Regions from separate parts of the Homo sapiens genome. Here region 2 is linked to region 1. The links are contacts of gene promoters, found by promoter capture Hi-C in blood cells and fetal thymus (Javierre and others, 2016). All regions are on one chromosome and are shown on one strand. The core of a region is centred on a gene start or on the middle of the fragment in contact, and the rest is flanking DNA. Distances in the headings are between cores, read along the strand shown. Region 1 holds the start of CTRC (chymotrypsin C). Region 2 overlaps FHAD1 (forkhead associated phosphopeptide binding domain 1).

Region 1 (7,231 bases), core at 1,962-4,461:
GTTTGTGTACATGTTTGAATGGGTGGCCCATGGCTCTGCTTGGCTCTACACATAACCGAATGCTTTATATGTATTATATCATTGGTGTGTGCATATTTGTGGACGTGGAGGAGCGTGTGTGTGCATGTGTGTGTGTGCGTGTGTGCATGTGTGCATATGTGTGTGTATGTTTGTGTGTGCATGTGTGCGCGTGGGTGTGTGCATTGTGTGCATGTGTGTGTGCGTGTGTGTCCATGTGTTTGTGTGCGTGTGTGCATGTGTGCATGTGTGTGCATGTGTGTGTGCATGTGTGTGTGCGTGTGTGTGTATGTGCGTGTGTGCGTCGCCTGTCCACGTATACTTGTGAATCCATGGGCATGTATACACAGCTGAGATGCGTGCTAACAAGTTGCTGTATCTCTGAGTATAAATTGATGAGCTCCTACAAGGAGACGCCCAGTTAATTCATTTTCCCAAGTTGATCAAGGGACATGAGAGAAACTGAGGCTCAAAGAGGTTGCTCAGGGTCTGGGTCATCCATTCTGTCACTGAGATGGAAACCAGGTGTCCTGTCTCCCCGCTTCAGACCCTGCTAATTTCCAAGACCTATCACCTAGCTCAAGCCATATCTCTGCTTATGTTCCCAGTTTCCAGGCTAGAATGACCCTTTGCAAGGCTTGGCAACCAAAAGCCCTGGGTCTGAAGCAGACTGGCCAGTAGCCACTGATAAACCTGTATCATGCACAACCAACCTCCAAAATGAAACAGAAAATTCCCCGCAGGCTGAAGTCCCCAGACACCCCAGGACTGAGGCCTTGATGTCACCATAGCTGAGCAGAGCCCCCAGTGCACATTCCCACTTTTATCTTTCTTAAAAAATTAAACCTATTGATTTTTATACTACCAAGGTAACTATGTTTGTTTTAAAAAAGAATTTAAGCTGCATAAAAATGTGTAGTTAGAGGCCAGGCATGGTGGCTCACACCTGTAATCCTAGCACTTTGGGAGGCCTATGTGAGTGGATCACTTGAGGTCAGGAGTTCGAGACCAGCCTGGCCAACGTGGTGAAACCCCGTCTCTACAAAAGGAACAAAAATTAGCCAGTGGCACTGGTCCCGGCTACTCAGGAGACTAAGTAAGGTAGGAGAATTGCTTGAACCTGGGAGGCAGAGGTTGCAGTGAGCCAAGATCGCACCACTGCACTCCAGCCTGGGCGACAGAGCGAGACTCCAACTCCATCTCAAAAAATAAATAAATAAATAAACAAACCAGCCTGGCCAACATGGTGAAATCCGGTCTCCACTAAAAATACAAAAATTAGCCGGGCATGGTGGTGGACATCTATAATCCCAGCTACTCGCGAGGCTGAGGAAGCAGAATTGCTTGAACCCAGGGGTGGAGGTTGCAGTGAGCTGAGATCGCACCACTGCACTCCAGCCTGGGCCACAGAGCAAGACTCTCAAAAAAAAAAAGTGTAAGTTAGAATCCTCCTTCACCCCCAGATCACCGCTATGAATGGCGGGGTGCGTAGTGCTCTGAACTTTTCTATCAGGAAGGAATTCCTAAGGTGGCCAGTAGGCCCAGCTCAGAAAATGACCTTCAAGGGGAGCTCAGTATGAGTAGAGGGGAAACGAAAGACAGAATCTAACCAACCAGGCTGAGGCCAGGCCTTGGGGCGAATGGATCAAACCACATGTTCCAAGGGATGGCCAACCCCGAATGCCGGAGGCTCTGGTAGAATTTCTGCTACTCAGTGCTTTGGGCCCTCAGATCTGCCACTGACCTTGACATTCAAGTTACAGAATTGTAGAACTGAAAGGAGCCTGAAAGTCCATCTGGTCCTTTTGCCCATTTTAGAGATGGGGAAACTGAGGACCTACAACTAAGCTGACTCCAGGAAGGAATCTGGCCAACTAAGCACCTTCCAGAGCCTGCTGCATCCCTGCCTCCAACCACAGCCCTGGAGGCAGGTGCAGGAGTGCATCAAGCCCAGGCAATTAGAAAGATGAGACAGAGAGAGAGCCAGGAAGCGATCCAATAGCACTAGAAAGGCAGAGAAGGAGCAGCATGTCTCCACAGCTTGAAGCCCCAGGCTGGTGTTAGAAGCTTTGGCTTCAAAGTCTGGCTCTGCTGCTGCCCAGCCGTGTGACCCTAGATGGTCACTTACCCGCTGAGTCTCAGCTTCCTCACTTTTATTTTATTTTTTTAGAGACAAGGTCTTGTTCTGTCACCCGCGCTGGAATGCAGTGTGGCACGATCACGGCTCACTGCAGCCTCGAACTCCTGGGCTCAAGCGATCCTCCTACCTTGGCCTCAGGAGTAGCTGGGACTACAGGCATGCACCACTGCGCCTGGTCCTTTCTCATCTCACCTCAGAGCAGATAACCGCGTCTATTTCATGTTGTTGGAAGAATTAAGTGAGATAATGCAAGAAGAATTGAGCGCAATGCCTGACACACAGTAGGTGCCCAATAAATAACTAAAAAGAATAAGGTAACGGCCTGTAATCACACCTGTAATCCTAGCACTTTGGGAGGCTGAGGTAGGCAGATTGCCTAAGCTCAGGAGTTCAAGACCACCCTAGGCAACAGGGTGAAACCCTGTCTCTACTAAAATACAAAAAAAAAAAAAAAAAAAAAATGGTGGCACACATCTGTAGTCCCAGCTACTTGGGAGGCTGAGACAGGAGAATCGCTTGAACTCGGGAGGCGGAGGTTGTAGTGAGCTGAGACTCCAGCCTGGGTGACAGAGCAAGATCCTGTCTCAAAAAAATAAATAAAATACAAAAGATTAACCTGGCGTGGTGGCAGGCGCCTGTAGTCCCAGCTACACAGGGGGCTAAGGCACGAGAATCGTTTGAGCCCGGGAGGTGGAGGTTGCAGTGAGCTGAGACTGTGCCACTGCATTTCAGCCTGGGCAACAGAGCAAGACTCCATCTCCAAATAAATAAATAAATAGTATAAGGTAGGGAGAGAGAATGAACACACACGTCAAACAGAGTGGGGTGGGGGATGCCAAAAAGCACTGCAACTCAGAATTTTCTGTTTCAGGATATTTGGAAAATCCATACTTCTAAGAAAGCCCTGTCTCCTGCCCAAATTAAACAGTAACCACCCAAGGTCAGGGAAAGGGCCTTATCAGAGCAGGTTTCTCTCCAAGGGGCGGTTTGGCCTTGACCAGGTGCACTCACCTGCTCCTGCCTATAAGTGTGCCCCAGCCCATCCCGATGGTCAGCCAGTCCTGAGCACCTAACCATGTTGGGCATCACTGTCCTCGCTGCGCTCTTGGCCTGTGGTAAGCGGTGGGGTGGGGCTGCAGCTAGCAGGCTGTGAGCTCGGGCTGGCCTCCAGGGCAAGGACGGGATGGGGAGTGGGGGGGCCTCTGCTCTCCAGGTAAGACACTTTGGGGTCCCCTGTGGGTTCAGATGCTACCAACCAGCTGTGTGTCAGACAAGCCACAGCCTGCCTGCCAACTCTGTTTCCACATCTGCAAAACAGGGAAGATGATCTGACGTGTCCCCAGTTAGAAATGAGGTGTGGAAAGCACCACGCAAGGGGGAGGGACACGAGATGCCTCATCCTGGGTTCACCCCAGGGACCATCGGGGTCTGCCTTTCCCAGCATTCTCTCTCCCTTGAGGATTCTCCATTCCATCATTTTGGTGGCGTTTTCCCAGATTAGGAGCCCAGGGACTTAGCTTAAATGCCACTTCTTCTCTGCAGGACCTGGAAAAGTCATTTCACCTCTCTAAATCTCACTAACTTTTTTGGCAAAGGAGAGCACTTAATGAAGAGTCCTTCCAGCTAACAACAACAACAGTAATAATAGCAGCTCCTGTTTCCTGTGTGTTTACTATGTGCCAGACGCTATGCTAGGCCCCTTACATGTAGGAGCCAATTTAATCCTCAAAACAACCTTAAGAGGTAGGGTCTATTGCCAGGCATGGTGGCTCACGCCTGTAATCCCAGCACTTTGGGAGGCCGAGGTGGGTGGATCACTTGAGATCAGGAGTTTGAGACCAGTCTGGCCAACAAGATGAAACCCCGTTTCTACTAAAAATACAAAAATTAGCCAGGCGTGGTGGCGGGCACCTGTAATCCCAACTACTCAGAAGGCTGAGGCAGGAGAATTGCTTGAACCCAGGAGGAGGTTGCAGTGAGCCGAGATCGCGCCATCAAACTCCAGCCTGGGCAACAAGAGTGAAACTCCGTCTCAAAAAAAAAAAAAAAAGAAAAAGAAAGAAAAAGAGGTAGGGTCTTTTCATAGCCCCATTTTACAGATGAGGACATCGAGGTTCCGTGCGACTTAGTATCTTGCCTGACATCACATGGCAGGTTAGTGGAAGAGGCAGAATTTGAGTCCACGTCTGTCTCGCGGAACAGCACGTGTTCTTGACCGCTCCACACAGCTTCCCAGCTATAACAGTGGATTTACTGCTCTCTCACACACACACCATGATGCAGGGGCCTAAAAACAGACAGAAGAACACAGGTGTACCGGGCACTCGCACACATGCCAGCCAGTTTTGTTTTGTTTTGTTTTGTTTTTTGAGATGGAGTTTTGCTCTTATCACCCAGGATGGAGTGCAATGGCACGATCTCGGCTCACTGCAACCTCCATCTCCCAGGCTCAAGCGATTCTCCTGCCTCAGCCTCCTGAGTGGCTGGGATTACAGGCATGCACCACCACGCCTGGCTAATTTCTGTATTTTTAGTAGAGACAGGGTTTCGCCATGTTGGCCAGGCTGGTGTCAAACCCCTGATCTCAAGCGATCCACCCGCCTTGGCCACCCAAAGTGCTGGGATTACAGGTGTGAGCCACCGTGCCCGGCCAAACGCTTTCTTTTTTATGTGTTGTCTAATTCAGTTCTCAGGGCAAACTCACCGCATTAGTGTGATTCTTCACATTTCACAGAAAGGGAAAACAAGGCCTAGAGACCTGGGTGGCTTACCCCCGTGACACAGTAAAATATCAACCCCGTGTCTGCCCAGCCCCAACTCTGTGCTTCTTCCACCTGCCCACCCTCCCACCCCTTTCCCCGTGGGCTACCAGCCCTATTCACTGGTTCTTCTGGCCTCCTGTCTCCCCAGCCTCCAGCTGTGGGGTGCCCAGCTTCCCGCCCAACCTATCCGCCCGAGTGGTGGGAGGAGAGGATGCCCGGCCCCACAGCTGGCCCTGGCAGGTAAGCCTGTGTAGGGCTGGGAGGTACAGATAGAGAGGGTGGCGGGGTGAGGGTCCCAGGGACCTGCAGGCTGACACACAGCCCTCCCCACCCTCCTGCAGATCTCCCTCCAGTACCTCAAGAACGACACGTGGAGGCATACGTGTGGCGGGACTTTGATTGCTAGCAACTTCGTCCTCACTGCCGCCCACTGCATCAGGTGTGCGGGGATGATACCCTGAGACCTGGCCATCGTCCGGGGGCGGAAGCCTGATACTCTGCTTTTTCTGAGCAGCTTCTCCGCACTCCAGGCACTGGGCTACATAATCTACTCACACCCAGTAACTCAGTTGTGCATTTAGTCAGTCAAGTATTCATTGTGCATCTATTATGTGCCAGGAACCAGCAGTGAAGACAAAGTCTGTGCTCTCGGGAAGCTTATATTTTTGTGGAAGACAGAGCGGCAGACAATTAAACAAATATATAGCATCTCAGGTGATTTAAAATAATACTAATAATAAGGTATTGGCCAGGAGCAGTGGCTCACGCCTGTAATCATAGCACTCTGGGAGGCCGACGCAGGCGGATCACCTGAGGTCAGGAGTTCGAGACCAGCCTGGTCAACATAGTGAAACCCCGTCTCTACCGAAAATACAAAAATTAGCCAGGCGTGGTGGCGGGCACCTGTAATCCCAGCTACTCGGGAGGCTGAGGTAGGAGAATCACTTGAACACGGGAGGCAGAGGTTGCAATGAGCCGAGATGGCGCCACTGCACTCTAGCCTGGGCAACAGAGTGAGACTCTGTCTCAAAAAAATAAAAAATAAAAATAAGGTCAGAAGAGGACAAACAGAATGAGGGGTTCAGTTTTAAAAGGGATGGCCAGGGGAAGAGCTGAAAGGGGGATATTTGGCAAATATTTGGGACATTTCGGAGAGCTAAAAGGGGGTTATTTGGGCAAAGGCCTGAAGGAAGTGAGGGAGGAAATCATGGATCTAGGAGAAGGGTGTTCCAGGCGGAGGGAACAGCCATGCAAAGCCTTGGAGGAGAGACCTGTCAGTATGGTTGAGAAATAACGCGGAAGCCGGTGTGGCAGGGGCAGCGTGTGCTAGAGGAGAGTGGGAGGTGAGCTAGAGAGGAAATAAGTGCAGGTCAGTATCAGGACCTTGGCTTTGACCCTGAGTAAGATGGAGCTATTGGAAGGGTTTCTGAGCAAAGGAGAGTTGTGGGCTGACATATTTTTATATATTCCATAAAATATTTTTAATATATTTTATAAAAAATATATATTGCAACATATTTCATTTTATATATTTCATATACACTTTTTTTTTTTTTGGTAGAGACAGAGTCTCATTTAGTGGTACCATCATGGTTCACTGTAGCCTTGACCTCCTGAGCTCAAGCAATCCTCCCACCTTAGCCTCCCGAGTAGCTGGGTCTATAAGCACACGCCACCACGCATTCCCAGCTAATTTTTCTTCTTGTTTTTTGTTTGTTTGTTTGTTTTTTAACTTAGAAGCCCAAACCTCACCATAAGTTTTCTATTTTTTGTAGAGATGGGGATTTGCCATGTGGCTCAGGCTGGTCTCAAACTCCTGGCCTCAAGCAATCCCCCCGTCTCGGCTTCCCAACGTGCTGGGATTACAGGCATGAGCCAACGCACCTGGCCGGAGATATTTTTAAACCCACACTGCTGGGTTCAGAATAGACAGGAGTAGGCCAGCGTACAAGTGAGAGATAGTTAGATGGATGCCGCAACTGTGCAGGCAAGGGCGGTGGAAGCTTGGATGAGTTTATTCTCACAGCCGCCCTGGGAGTAAGTTCCAGCATTGCCTCCCCCTTACAGATGAGGGAACTGAGGCACAAGGCTACACAGCCAGGAGCAGCAAAGTCACAACATGAACCCAAGTCCCTTGACCCCAAGTCCCAGGCCCTTCCCCTCACCCTGGGAAAGGACAATGGGAACACTCTCTTCCCCCAAAATGAGTCCCACTAAAGCCCCGAGCTCCCTCTCTATCCCACTGGCTGGCAGGACCAGGGGGCCACCCTGACCTGGACCCCTTCCTCTGCCCAGCAACACCCGGACCTAC
Region 2 (7,231 bases), core at 2,607-5,106, 130 kb before region 1:
GGCATGGTCTATGTACTCTTACATGTACTAACTTATGAAAATGCTTTCAACAACCCTGAAATTACGACTGTCACCACACTTACAGAATAAAAAAATGGGACAGAATTGGTGTCCTCCCTACCTTCACACAGAGACGGATTTTGCAGATGGCAGTCTGGCTCCTGAGTCCCTACCATGCTCCACGGCCTCAGGCTGTTAATGCTGGTTCCTAGAGCCACGTGGAAAGAACTGGAAGCAGGCAACTAAAGCCTGGATTTGGATCGTAACTCTACCACCGACTGATCCGTGCAATCCCAAGCAAGCAACCTCACCCCTCTGAGTCTTGATTTCCTCACTTGCAAAATGGGAGCTGATGTGGTTTGACTGCATCCCCACCAAATCTCAACTTGAATTGTATCCCAGAAATCCCACATGTTGTGGGAGGGACCCAGCAGGAGGTAATTGAATCATGGGGGCCAGTATTTCCTGTGCTGTTCTCGTTATAGTGAATAAGTCTCATGAGATCTGATGGTTTTATCAGGGGTTTCCGCTTTTGCTTCTTCCGCATTTTCTCTTGCCGCCGCCATGTAAGAAGTGCTTTTCGCCTCCCACCATGATTCTGAGGCCTCCCCGGCCATGTGGAACTGTAAGTCCAATTAAATCTCTTTTTCTTCCCAGTATCGGGTATGGCTTTATCAGCAGTGTGAAAACAGACTAATACAGTAAATTGGTACCAATAGAGTGGGGCATTGCTGAAAAGATACCTGAAAATGTGGAAGCAACTTTGGAACTGAGTAACAGGCAGAAGTTGGAACAGTTTGGAGGGCTCAGAAGAAGAGAGGAAAATGTGGGAAAGTTTGGAACTTTCTAGAGACTTGCTGAATGGCTTTGACAAAAAGCCTGATAGCGATATGGATAATAAGGCCCAGGCTGAGGTGGTCTCCGATGGAGATGAGGAACTTGTTGGGAACTGGAGCAAAGGTGACTCTTGTTATGTTTTAGCAAAGAGAATGGTGGCATTTTGCCCCTGCCCTAAAGATTTGTGGAACTTTGAACTTGAGAGAGATAATTTAGTGTATCCAGCAGAAGAAATTTCTAAGCAGCAAAGCATTCAAAAGGTGACTTGGGTGCTGTTAAAAGCATTCCATTTTAAAAGGGAAACAGCATAAATTCAGAAAATTTGCAGCCTGATGATGGAGTAGAAAAGAAAAACCCATTTTCTGGGGGAGAAATTCAAGCCAGCTGCAGAAATTTGCATAAGTACCAAGGAGACTAATGTTAATCCCCAAGGCCATGGGGAAAATGTCTCCAGGACATGTCAGAGACCTTCACAGCAGCCCCTCCCATCACAGGCCCAGAGGCCCAGGAGGAAAAAGTGGTTTTGTGGGCCAGGCCCGGGGTCCCCATGCTGTGTGCAGCCTAGGGACTTGGTGCCCTATATCCCACCCACTCCAACCATGGCTAAAAGGGGCCAACATAGAGCTTGGGCTGTGGCTTCAGAGGGTGGAAGCCCCAAGCTTTTGCAGCTTCCACATGGTGTTGAGCCTGCAGGTGCACAGAAGTCAAGAATTGAGGTTTGGGAACCTCTGCTTAGATTTCAGAAGATGTGTGGAAATGCCTGGATGCCCATGCAGAAGTTTGCTGTGGGGTCGGGGCCCTCATGGAGAACCTTTGCTAGGGCAGTGTGGAAGGGAAATGTGGGGTCAGAGCCCCCACACAGAGTCCCTACTGGGGCATTGCCTAGTGGAGCTGTGAGAAGAGGGCCCCCGTCCTCCAGACCCCAGAATGGTAGATCCACCAATGGCTTGAATCGTACTCCTGGAAAAGCCGCAGACACTCAACGCCAGCCCATGAAAGCAGCTGGGAGAGAGGTTGTACCCTGCAAAGCCACAGGGATGGAGCTGCCCAAGACCATGGGAACCTACCTCTTGCATCAGCGTAATCTGGATGTGAGACCTGGAGTCAAAAGATCATTTTGGAGCTTTAAAGTTTGACTGCCCTGCTGGATTTCAGACTTTCATGGGCCCTGTAACCCCTTTGTTTTGGCCAATTTCTCCCATTTGGAATGGCTGTATTTACCCAATACCTGTACCCCCATTGTACCTAGGAAGTAACTAGCTTGCTTTTGATTTTACAGGCTCATAGGCGGGAAGGACTTGCCTTGTCTCAGATGAGACTTTGACTTTTGGGTTAATGCTGAAATGAGTTAAGACTTTGGGGGACTATTGGGAAGGCATGGTTGGTTTTGAAATGTGAGGACATGAGATTTGGAGGGGCCAGGGGCAGAATGATATGGTTTGGCTGTGTCTCCACCAAATCTCAACTTGAATTGTATCTCCCAGAGTTCCCACACATTGTGAGAGGGACACAGGGAGAGGTAATTGAATCATGGGGGCTGGTCTTTCTCATGCTGTTCTAGTTACAGGGAATAAGTCTCACAAGATCTGATGGGTTTATCAGGGGTTTCCACTTTTGCTTTTTCGTCATTTTCTCTTGCCGCTGCCATGATTCTGAGGCCTCCCCAGCCAGTGAAACTGTAATTCCAATTAAACCTCTTTCTCTTTTTTTTTTTTTGGAGACGGAGTCTCACTCTGTCACCCAGGTTGTAGTGCAGTGGCACGATCTCGGCTCACTGCAAGCTCTGCCTCCCGGGTTCACACCATTCTCCTGCCTCAGCCTCCCGAGTAGCTGGGACTACAGGTGCCCGCCACCACACCCAGCTAATTTTTTGTATTTTTAGTAGAGACAGGGTTTCACCGTGTTAGCCAAGATGGTCTTGATCTCCTGACCTCATGATCCACCCGCCTCAGCCTCCCAAAGTGCTGGGATTACAGGCGTGAGCCACTGCGCCCGGCCTAAACCTCTTTTTCTTCCCAGTCTCGGGTATGTCTTTATCACAGCGTGAAAACAGACTAATACGGGAGCATTCCCAGGAGCCTTCTGTGGAGAGGCCATGAGGCTCTGTTGAAGGAGTAGTGTCTGTGAGTGGGCTTTGTAGGTTCTAGAGTGTTCTGTGAGATATAACCTATTGTTATCATTTGAGGGAATTAATTTTATAACATGCTTCCCTCTCTTGAACTTTGCTCTGTATCCAGTCAGTACTGGGCGACCTGGAACCAACAGGTGATCTGTTTATGGCTGAGAGTCCAAAGGTCATCAGAAGGCACATTAAGAAACCAGGTGTCCCCAGTGGCAGCCAGGCCTGGGCCCCTTTATGGGCACAAAGATAAGGTTCATGTTTTGATGACATAGGAAGTGGTGGTCCTTGAAGGAACAGGCCCTCCCCTGTCCCTTCCACTGGTTAAAACTAAAAAGCTTGGTTTCCCCAACACCCCAGCCAAAACTCAATCTGAATCTTTCTGTCAAGCTTGTGAGAAGTACCTGTGTGTCTCCCAGACGTGGGCCAGCCCCCCTCTGACTGTGCCACCTCCTCCCACAGATCAGTGCCCTACAGAAAGGCTACAGCAAGGTGCTGTGCCAGACCCTGTCAGAGCGGAACTCAGAAATCACATCCCTGAAGAATGAGGGCGAGAACTTAAAGAGAGACAACGCTATCACATCAGGTGAGCCCTTGGAGTCGGGCCTGGGAGCTGCCACTCCCGCACCCGTTGTTCTTGGCCACAGCAGACATCACCAATCAACCACATACTTTTTGTTACTGAACTTGGCTGCAGCCTCAGAGTTCTTCCCAGCAGCCCTTTAGGCAGTTCCTGTCCATGAATCTGAGTTCACCCTCAGAGGTTTATGTGCCATCCAGTTCCTAGCATAGGGCCTGGTTTGGAGTGAGCCCTTGATAAATATTTGAGCAAATGTTATCTGTTAGCTAAAAGGCCTGCTGAGCATGGACCTCACCAGGGAACACACAGGACAAGCTGCAGCTCAGGCAGTCCCATGAGCCAGTTTGCTGTGAATGCAAACTAGAATGTGGCTAAAATGGGGTTGCCAGTTTAAGGCACCCAGCCTCTTACCCATCTCACACTGGTGCTCTTGGGCCGGAGCGAAAGCATTTTGCTAATTGAGAGGTAGCTGGATACTCAAGAACTTGGGTGGGCAAGGGGGCAGCCAACTCATGGCCCACCCTTGCCAGGCACAGCTGTTTCTTAGCCTGGATTCATTCATTCATTCATTCATTCAGCACATTTATGGAGCAGCTGCTAGATGCCAGGCACTGTTCTAGGCACTGGGGAGAGAGAGCCCTGAGCAGTCAAGATCCCTCTGCCCCTCTGCTCATGGGGCTCACACTTGGGAGAGGATGACAGACAATAAGAAGTAAAAAGATAAATGAACAAGCCCATACCAGAGAGAGATCAGTGCTCCAGAGGAAATAAAGCTGGACACCGTGGTGGGGAAGCACTCAGGGGGTGAAGTGAAGGAGAATAGCTTAGTGCAAGCTTGTCCAGCCCACGACCTGCGGGCCACATATGGCCCAGGACAGCTTTGAATGAGGCTCGACACAAATTCCTCAACTTTCCTAAAACATTATGAGATTTTTTTTTTTTAGCGATTTTTTTTTTTAGCTCATCAGTTATTATTAGCGTGAGTGTATTTTATGCGTGGCCCAAGACCCTTCTTCTTCTTCCAGTGTGGCTCAGGGAAGCCAAAAGATTGGACATCCCTGGCTTAGTGCCTGGGCAGGGATATCTCTGAGGAGGTGGGAGGGGCTGTCGGGAGGCCCCTGGGAACGGTATGCTGGGCAGAGAGCACAGGTGCAAAGGCCCCGAGGCTGGACCAAGCCACGGTGTTGGATCAACTGCCGGCGAGTGTGGCTGGAGTCAGGGAACAAGGGGCTATGGGACCTGGTGGGGTCAGGGGGGAGGCAGGGCCACATTACATGGGAGGGGTTCAGGTTTTCTTCTAAGTGTGATGGGACACGTTAGGGTTTTTAAGGCAGAGAATGGCATGTCTCGAGACCTGCAGATGATAGGGCCATGGACAGAGAAAGGGGGAAGAGAGAAAAGCAGGTGGTGGAGAGGGAATGAGTCCAGATTGGGCATATTGCTCCTAAAGTCCCCCCTGCACAGCAGGAAACATGCCCGTGGCTGTGAAAGCAGAGCGTAGCATTGAGTCAGACACAATCGCTGTCTCCGCAGGACCCAGGCCGCCTGGCCGTGGCTTTCCCTCTGCCTCACTCTGCAGTCCCCCTCCCCACTCCAGGCTTCTACCTCTGTTCTTCCCTAACATGGAATGTTCTTGGATACTTGTGAGCCCTATGGGCAGGGCTGCTCTGGGCACCAGGCATCCCAGGGGGATCTCGCTGGGCCCTGCCCTCCTCCCCAGCGTCTGTCCATCACACCCCATCCACGCTACAAGCCTGTCTCAGACACCACTCCTCTAATCAAGGAGTCAGACAGACCTGGGCTCAGGTATGGCCTGGGATGGGCTACACTCTCACGGCCCCAAGTGTGGTCCCTGGACCAGCAGCATCAGCATCACCTGGATCCTTGTGAGAAACTGGGAATTTCAGGCCCCACTCCTGACCTTCCGATCAGAATCTTCATTTTCACAAGCCTCCCGGCTGCTGCTTGTGCACACTTAAGCTCGAGAAGCACTGGGCCGGGTTACGCTGCAGTGACAAACAGTCCCCCAAGTCTCAGTGGCTCACAATAGACAGGTTCAGCTCCTGCTTCCACCCTGAGCCCATCATGGGTCAGTAGGGGCTTTGGTCATTGTGGCCACACAGTGACCCAGGCTCACAGAAGCCATCACAACACATCACAAACCCCATCTTCCACAGGAAGAGAGGCAGATGGAGGAACAAGGTGCGGATTTCCTCACCTGCCTGAAACAACTCAAACAAACAAACAAAAACCAAACAAACAGAAAAAAATGTCTGAAATAATGGTTTCCATCTATTGGCCCCAAGAAGCATGTGACGATGATCTGGGAGGGAGTGGAAACAAACAAGATGAAATCTACGATTGCCCCCGGCTGGCTTGCGCTGGAGAGAGTTTCCAGACCACAGCAGGGAGGGGAAGCCAGACAGAGCCCAGTGGTCAGCCCGACTTGAGGAGATGGAGGTGGAGAAGCCAGCACAGCTTGAGTTTGCTGGGTGGCGTGCCAGGCGGGAGGGGGCTGCACGGAGAGCACCCCGGAGATCTCAGAGGGTCCGCCTCAAGTCTTCAGCAGAGTCAGGTGTGATGAGCACGTGCATGTGGGCAGGGAAGGAACCACCCAGGAGGAGCAGAGGGAACCATCTCGAAGCCCACGTAGGCCTGAGAGTAGCTCACTTTCCCACCATCCAGAATGGGGCAACCTTGCACTACACAGGGCACCTGGTAGAGACTCAAGCCAAATTCATTCTAGAGAAAAGGTCACTCTGGTCCCGCCTCACAAAGCATGCAGGCAAGCCCCAGAGAGAGCAGTCTGTTTCTAAGGAACTTAACTGTGTCCCCGGACGAAGCTCATTTTTACAATGAAATTCTGAATCATGTTGTTCTTTATTACACATCCTTGATTGTGCAATAAAGATTGATTCTTGATTGATACCCACCAATAAAACTAGGATGAATGTTTTTCTAAGAAAAGGACCGTATGAGATAACCCAATACCACTGCATTATGCACCCTTCTTCTCACTTTTTCTCAATGTGATAATACAATAATATATTGACTATCTGCTGTCACATAAGTTATCCCAAAAAAGCAACAAATATGTTTATCTTACCCGGTTTCTGTGGTTCAGGAACTTGGGAGTGACTTAGTCTGGCTCAGGGTCTCTCACGAGGTTGCAGGAGCTACTGCTGTCATGTCATCTAAAGCCCGACTAGGGCTCGAGGATCCCCTTCTGGAATGACTCGCTCACATGGCTGTTGGCTGGAGGCCTCAGTTCCTCACCATGTGTGTCCTTCCCTAGGGCTGCTTGAGTGTCCTCACAACATGGCGGTTGGCTTTCCCCAGACTGAGTGATCCAAGGAGAGCAAAGAAGAAACCACAACATCTTTGATGATTCACCCTGGGAAGTCACATTCACCACTTCCACAGTGCCATATGAGTTACACACGTCAGCCCTATTCAGGTGGGAGGGGGCTACACGAGGCCAGGTATTCTAACAGGCAGGGATCATGGGGGCCATTTTGCAAGCTGGCTACCACATATACTTGTGGGTGGCAGGGAATAAACACTATGTGTTAGCCACTCTACTATGTTCTTTATACAACTCTGTAGATACAATGAGAGGTTAAATAACTTCTTCAGACCACTAAGCTAGGCTGGGCATTGTGGCTCACATCTGTAATCCCAGCACTTTGGGAGAC

The links. The method cuts DNA at HindIII sites, captures the fragments that hold promoters and counts their contacts. A CHiCAGO score of 5 or more calls a contact.
Region 2: a fragment that was not itself captured here is called in contact with the fragment with the promoter of CTRC in region 1 in 5 of 17 cell types (activated CD4 T cells, endothelial precursors, naive CD4 T cells and 2 more); the score reaches 10.2 in activated CD4 T cells.

The regions. Positions count from the first base shown.
Region 1 is chr1:15,435,232-15,442,462 of GRCh38, forward strand. CTRC (chymotrypsin C) reads left to right here and starts at 3,212. Exons shown (of 8, transcript NM_007272.3): 1 at 3,212-3,273; 2 at 5,069-5,160; 3 at 5,262-5,359; 4 at 7,216-7,231. The coding sequence starts at 3,234. The HindIII fragment of the contact is 3,491 bases long and covers 2,084-5,574 here.
Region 2 is chr1:15,305,195-15,312,425 of GRCh38, forward strand. It overlaps FHAD1 (forkhead associated phosphopeptide binding domain 1), which reads left to right. Exons shown (of 34, transcript NM_001391957.1): 7 at 3,419-3,542. Among named protein-coding and RNA genes, the nearest start is that of FHAD1-AS1, 35 kb to the right of the region's middle. RefSeq lists an enhancer at 1-875. The HindIII fragment of the contact is 1,024 bases long and covers 3,345-4,368 here.